Regions from separate parts of the Homo sapiens genome. Here region 1 is linked to region 2. Evidence: promoter capture Hi-C in human tissues and cell types (Jung and others, 2019). All regions are on one chromosome and are shown on one strand. The core of a region is centred on a gene start or on the middle of the fragment in contact, and the rest is flanking DNA. Distances in the headings are between cores, read along the strand shown.

Region 1 (2,797 bases), core at 235-2,734, 180 kb before region 2:
GAAGATCTACAGTGAAGACTATATGTTGTTACCAAACACTACTCCATTCCCCGCCCAACCAGGCAGATAGACTACATTACCCAGCGACCCCCTTGTAGTTGGGGTGGTCATGTGACTGAGTCTTGGCCAATGGGACACATGTACAAGTGATCCTCAACACTTTCAGGCCCAGTCCATAGGTTTCCCAAGAGCTCCCAATGTTCTCTTTCCCTGACTGTGGCTGGATGCAGAGAAACCCACAATGACAGGCCCTAGAAGATGGCAGAGCCATGTGATGAAAGGGGCCTGGGCCCCTGACTCACTGCTTGGAAGGGAGCCACCCATCCAGGGCTGTGATGGACTGTGGTATAAAGTAAGAAATAGCAGGGCCGGGTGCAATGGCTCATGCCTGTAATCCCAGCACTTTGGGAGGCTGAGGTGGGTGGATCATTTGAGGTCAGGACTTCAAGACCAGCCTGGCCAACATGTTGAAACTCCATCTCTACTAAAAATACAAAATTAGCTGGGCGTGGTGGTGGGTGCCTGTAATCCCAGCTACTTGGGAGGCTGAGGCAGGAGAATTGCTTGAACCCAGGAAGCGGAGGTTGCAATGAGCCGAGATTGTGCCACTGCACTCCAGCCTGGGCAACAAGAGCGAAACACTGTCTCAAACAAACAAACAAAAAGAAAGAAAGAAAAAGAAATAGCTGGACTATACTATCTGAGCTGTTTGTTACAGCACATAATCTTCCCTGACCAATACAGGGTTGTGAGAAGTAGAGAAAGAGTTTGAATTAGGACAATAGTGGGTGCAGCCGTGGTGGTATGCCTGTTATCTTGTCCCAAGGGGCCCAAGTCACTGTTCCCCAGCTTCTAACAGGAGCTGGTAGTGGGTACCAGGAATGGAGCTCAATGGTGCCTCCCACACATATGGCCTCCCTCGTAGGTGAAAGCGGTTAGTCCTTTGTCTGTCAGAGCTGTTTTGGAAGTCTCTCTGGGAGGTCTACATGTGATCTTCCCAGCAAAAGGTCAGATACAGTACTTAGGGATCTGTAGGATCCACAGCTGAGCCTGAACTCCTGGGCTGTGATTCTCTCGCTCCAGTTCCCCTTGGTCTCTGGTCTTCTAGAGAAGAGATGTGAGAGATATCAGTAAGACTGTCATTACTGAGACCAGCTGGACACAGGAGGGAGGACATGGGACCTCAGAGAATAACCACCAGGTTTTTCTACAGTGTAGGGCTCTTGGAGAGTGGACAAAACAGAAACCCACAGATGGTCCCCAGATTCCAGTAAAACTTCCCTTCCCACCAAATCACCTACCAAGTATAGCAGAGGTGGCTGGAGCCCCGCCCAGAGCCCCTTGACTGGACCTGTGCACCCAGCTGCACGCAGCTCACACTTGCACCCTTCTCTGAATGTTTGCCCTTGACGGATGGACACTGCTTTCCCTGGAGATATCCGGGAGGTTATAGGTGCCCTTGCCCATGTAACATAGCCAATGGCTGACTGACTTGGGCAGGTATCACTGCCCAGCCCTTTTGCCTGTAAATATGACAACTTCTTGGATATGATTCCCAAGCTCCCGCGTGATCAGGCTGAGGCTAGACTTCCACTGCAGCCTTGTGTTTTCCCAGTTTCTTCCCCTGCACTCTCGTGCTTCCCTCATGCCCTTACTGGTTTCTCCTGAAAGCACCCCCTCAATAAATCACCCACACAAGAATCCCTGTCTCGGGCCCCCTGAGGTTCTGGGGAGAATTAAAGCCAAAGACAGCAGGGCCCCGATAACCTGGGTGGATGGCTGGCATCCCACCCACAGCCATCAACTAGCCTCAAAGAAGAAGAGGGAAGGGTAAGTCCAGGACAATCCCAAAAGGTCACCACCTTCTTGGAGGCTTCTCTGGTGAAGATAGAAGCTACTGTGAAGGTATCTTGGACCATGGGAAGATTTTTAGATGCTGAAGTGCAACTTCCTAATCCTTGGGCTGAAGGAGGTGGCCTCGTAGGACAGAAGGAAGGCTGGTCCAGGAGACTAGGGCAGGGGAAGAGGGAGGCTGGTAGATGCCTAGCCCAGCTTCAGCCTGAAGAAAATCTTGAAGCAGTCTTCTCTAAAACCCATTTCCCCTTCCATGAATTTCTTTTCTTTTTCTTCCTTCTTTTTTTTTTTTTTTGGACAGAGTCTTGCTCTGTCACCCAGGCCGGAGTGCAGTGCTGTGATCTCAGCTCACTGCAACCTCCACCTCCTCTGTTCAAGTGTTTCTCGTGCCTCAGCCTCCCAAGTAGCTGGGACTACAGGTGCCCTCCACCACGCCTGGCTAATTTTTTATATTTTTAGTAGAGACAGGGTTTCGCCATGTTGGCCAGGCTGGTCTCGAACTCCTGACCTCAGATGATCTGCCCACCTTGGCCTCCCAAAGTGCTGGGATTACAGGTGTGAGCCACCACGCCTGGCCCACGTCATGAATTTCTAATCCCTCTTCAGGAGGAGGAAGCTTTGCTAAGCCTCTGTGTCACTCCATAGCTTCCTGCTTGAAAGGATGGTCTACTTGAAGGACCGTGGTAAAGTGGAAATACCGGTTCTGCCATTGACTCACTGCATGACCTAAGACAAGCCACTGTCCTCCTCTGGGCCTCAGTCTCCCCATCTGTCAGATGTGCAGGCCCGATCGGATGACCTATCTCTAGGTTCCTTCTGGTATTGAGAGCCTGAATTTCACTCTCAGGATGCCTTTTGGACAATGCTGTGCTGAGGAATGTCTGACAACTGGCTCTCTGGGGAACTAAAAAAAAAAAATGCTTTGATTTTACCATTTGTCAAC
Region 2 (2,726 bases), core at 160-2,659:
CGGCACTGCGTGGAGTAGAACTGGAAGGGCACCCACGTGCGCCCGTAGTCCATGGACTTGTAGATGGCCATGGACTCGGGCCGCGGCGAGCAGAACTGCAGGCTCACGTAGGTCACTTCGAACTTCTTGCCGAGGGACAGTGTGAGCGTGACGTTGTGCGGGAACTGCAGGTAGTTCTCGGACTGCCAGCACGTCAGGTTGTGCGGGTTGTTGAGGTCGGTGAGGAAGGCGGGCGGGTGCGCCTTCTTGGGGTCGGACGCGTTGCAGAGGTGGCACGAGCGCAGCCGCTCCTCGCCGCGCTCGCTCACCACGCAGTAGCGCGCCGGGGGCCGGCCGCAGGTGCTGGACACGCGCACGTCCTTGCCGAAGGCCGCATTGACAAAGTCCGGGATGCAGCGGCGCGGGTGGCCGTTCTCGTCCGAGCAGGGATCGGGCTGCGCCGCCTGGCCCGCGAACATGCTGAGCCCGGGCCCGCCGCGCACCGCGCCCACCAGGCACGCCACCGCCGCCAGCGCCGCCAGCGCCTCCCACACTGCGCGCATCATGCTGCGTCCAGCTTGCCCCGGCCCTGCCGCGCCGAGGATCTGTCCGCCTGCCGCAGAAGGCGCCTGCGGAGAGAAGGGAGCTGCGCTCAGCCAGCCCGCCCCGCGCCCTCCAGCTCTCGGCGGGGTGGCGAGCGGAGATGCGGGAGAACGCCCGGCTTCCTGGGCACCCACCCCGCAGCCGACTGCCCGCCTCTCTCCCCCAAAGTCCCGCGGGCGGCGAAGCCGGGGCCCTCCAAGTCCGCACCGCTCGCGCCCCTTCTTCCCCGCCCGGCGGGAGAACGCTCTGCTTCCCCGCCACCGCCGCCCCCACGCCGCCCGAGGGGCATGCCTGAGCCGGTCTCCCCGTCCGCGACCAGCCCCCCTCGCACCCCAAGTTTCGGGCGCAGGAGAGCTGGGGGACCCCGACTCTGCACGGCCCGCGCCCCTTCGTCTCGCAGCCCGGGGTCCCTCTCAGATGCCCCCCGATCGCGTCCCCGCCGGAAAGTCCGCGTTCGGGACTTTACCTCTGGAGGGGGCAAAAGAGAAAGAAAAGTTTGCCTGGCCCCTCCGGGGAGCCCGCGCGCCGGTCGCCGGAGAGCCTCTCGCTCGCTGCTAGCAGGCGCGTCCCGCCTCAGCGCGGGCTTGCCAGCTCCATGCCCGGCGCGGCCGCCGCTGCCCCAGCCCCAGCCCCGGTCCCGGCCCCGCCGCCGCCTCTCTCGCCCGAGTGACTACGCGGCCGCCCGGCTCCCGCCGCTCCCGCCGAGCTCGGAGTGCTGCCCTGCCCGCGCCCGGGGCGCACACACACTCACGCTGGCCGGCGCGCACTCACACACACGCGCGCTCGCCCCCGAAGGCTCCGCCGCCGCCGCCACTCGCGCTGGGAGTGAGGGGCGGAGGGGAGCGCGGGGGCGGGGGGCGGGGCCGCCGGGCGGGGCGCCGGCCAATAACGTCCGCGAGCTGCCGCCAGCTCCGAGCAAAGTTTTCACCCCGGGAAAGAAGAAAGTTAAAGGGAACCGGCCCGGACGCCCGAGAGGGAGAGCACAGGCGGGTGGGAACCCGGGAGCCCGAGAAAGAACAGCAGAGACAAAGAGAAAGCGAGGAGAGCACCCGGGGAAACCCCGGAGAGGGGGCTGGGCCGGGCCAGGCGCGCACCCCGTGGGGGAGGAGGGGCCGCCGGGGACTGTCAGCCTCGCCCGCGCCCCGCGCCGCCCGGAGAGCCTCACGCCCGGGGGAGCGCGCGGGCGGGGGAAGGGGGCCACTTTCTCCCTCCCGGTCCCAGCCAAACACATCTGTGTTTGTTTTCTTTGCTGCGCGGAGGTCGGGCCTTCCTCTAACCCAGCCTGATGGCCCCCGGTGGCACCGCGCACAGGGCTGTGCCCCTGTGGGCACGCAGCCCGGGAGCGTGAGGAAGAGGAGGAGGATGTGACCTCTGCCTGCTCTCCATTTTTGCCCGAAGCCCCCGGGGTCCGGCGAGGAGGGGCTGCTCGCCCGCACTCCCACGGATATCACCGTGCGTGAGCCTGTCTGTCGGGAACGCGGCTTCGTTCTAGCCAAGGGAGCAGTGGTGGGCAGGAGGCTGAAGGGGTAGGAAGCTGGCAGCACCTGGACGCTGGCCACCGCCCCTCCAAGACGGGCCTGCCTGGTCTCAGGCATGGGGACAGCCCAGCCCTCCCCAGATCCCCTGAGGCAGGCGTATCGGTACTTCCTCAACCGCATTTTTAAGGGTGCAAAGCCCTGTAATAGCTCATGGGACCTCCACAGCAGCTTTGCTGTTGTATTAACTCCATTTTGCAGATGAGGAAACTGAGGGTCCCGGGAGCTGAAGAAACTCGCACAAGATCAACCCCCAAGTAAACATCAAAAACAGGAAGAGAAGCCTGGGCTCCTTCCACTGCAGGGCATTCGTCAAATGCATAACCTTGCCGAATGATGGTGTCATGGGGCATCTGCGGGGCCACCCAGCCCCTCCTTGCCTCATTCTCCATCGCCCCAATAAAAAGACTGAGGACAGTGACAGCATCCTTTGGTCATCTTGCAACAGCAGCCAGAGAGCTCTGGGAAAGGAATACACTGGGCCGAGAGTTTGGAACGGAATCTCTGCTCGTTTATTTGTTACTTGTAGATGTGTGGTCCAGTAATAGACCCGGATGAAAAGCCCCAGGTCCTGGTTCCGGCCCAAGGGCTGCCTTGCTGCATTAGCTC

What was found. The method cuts DNA at HindIII sites, captures the fragments that hold promoters and counts their contacts. A contact is called where the count stands out against the background at its distance.
Region 1: a contact is called between a fragment that was not itself captured here and the fragment with the promoter of NTN1 in region 2, in 4 of the 25 tissues and cell types used here (heart left ventricle, mesendoderm cells, neural progenitor cells and 1 more).

What each region holds. Positions count from the first base shown.
Region 1 is chr17:9,197,011-9,199,807 of GRCh38, reverse strand. All of the region lies in intron 5 of NTN1 (netrin 1), which reads right to left. Among named protein-coding and RNA genes, the nearest start is that of NTN1, 180 kb to the right of the region's middle. The HindIII fragment of the contact is 7,572 bases long and covers 1-2,797 here.
Region 2 is chr17:9,020,193-9,022,918 of GRCh38, reverse strand. NTN1 (netrin 1) reads right to left here and starts at 1,409. Exons shown (of 7, transcript NM_004822.3): 1 at 1,334-1,409; 2 at 1-608. The coding sequence starts at 545. RefSeq lists silencers at 1,158-1,947, 1,998-2,047 and an enhancer at 1,468-2,011. The HindIII fragment of the contact is 11,312 bases long and covers 1-2,726 here.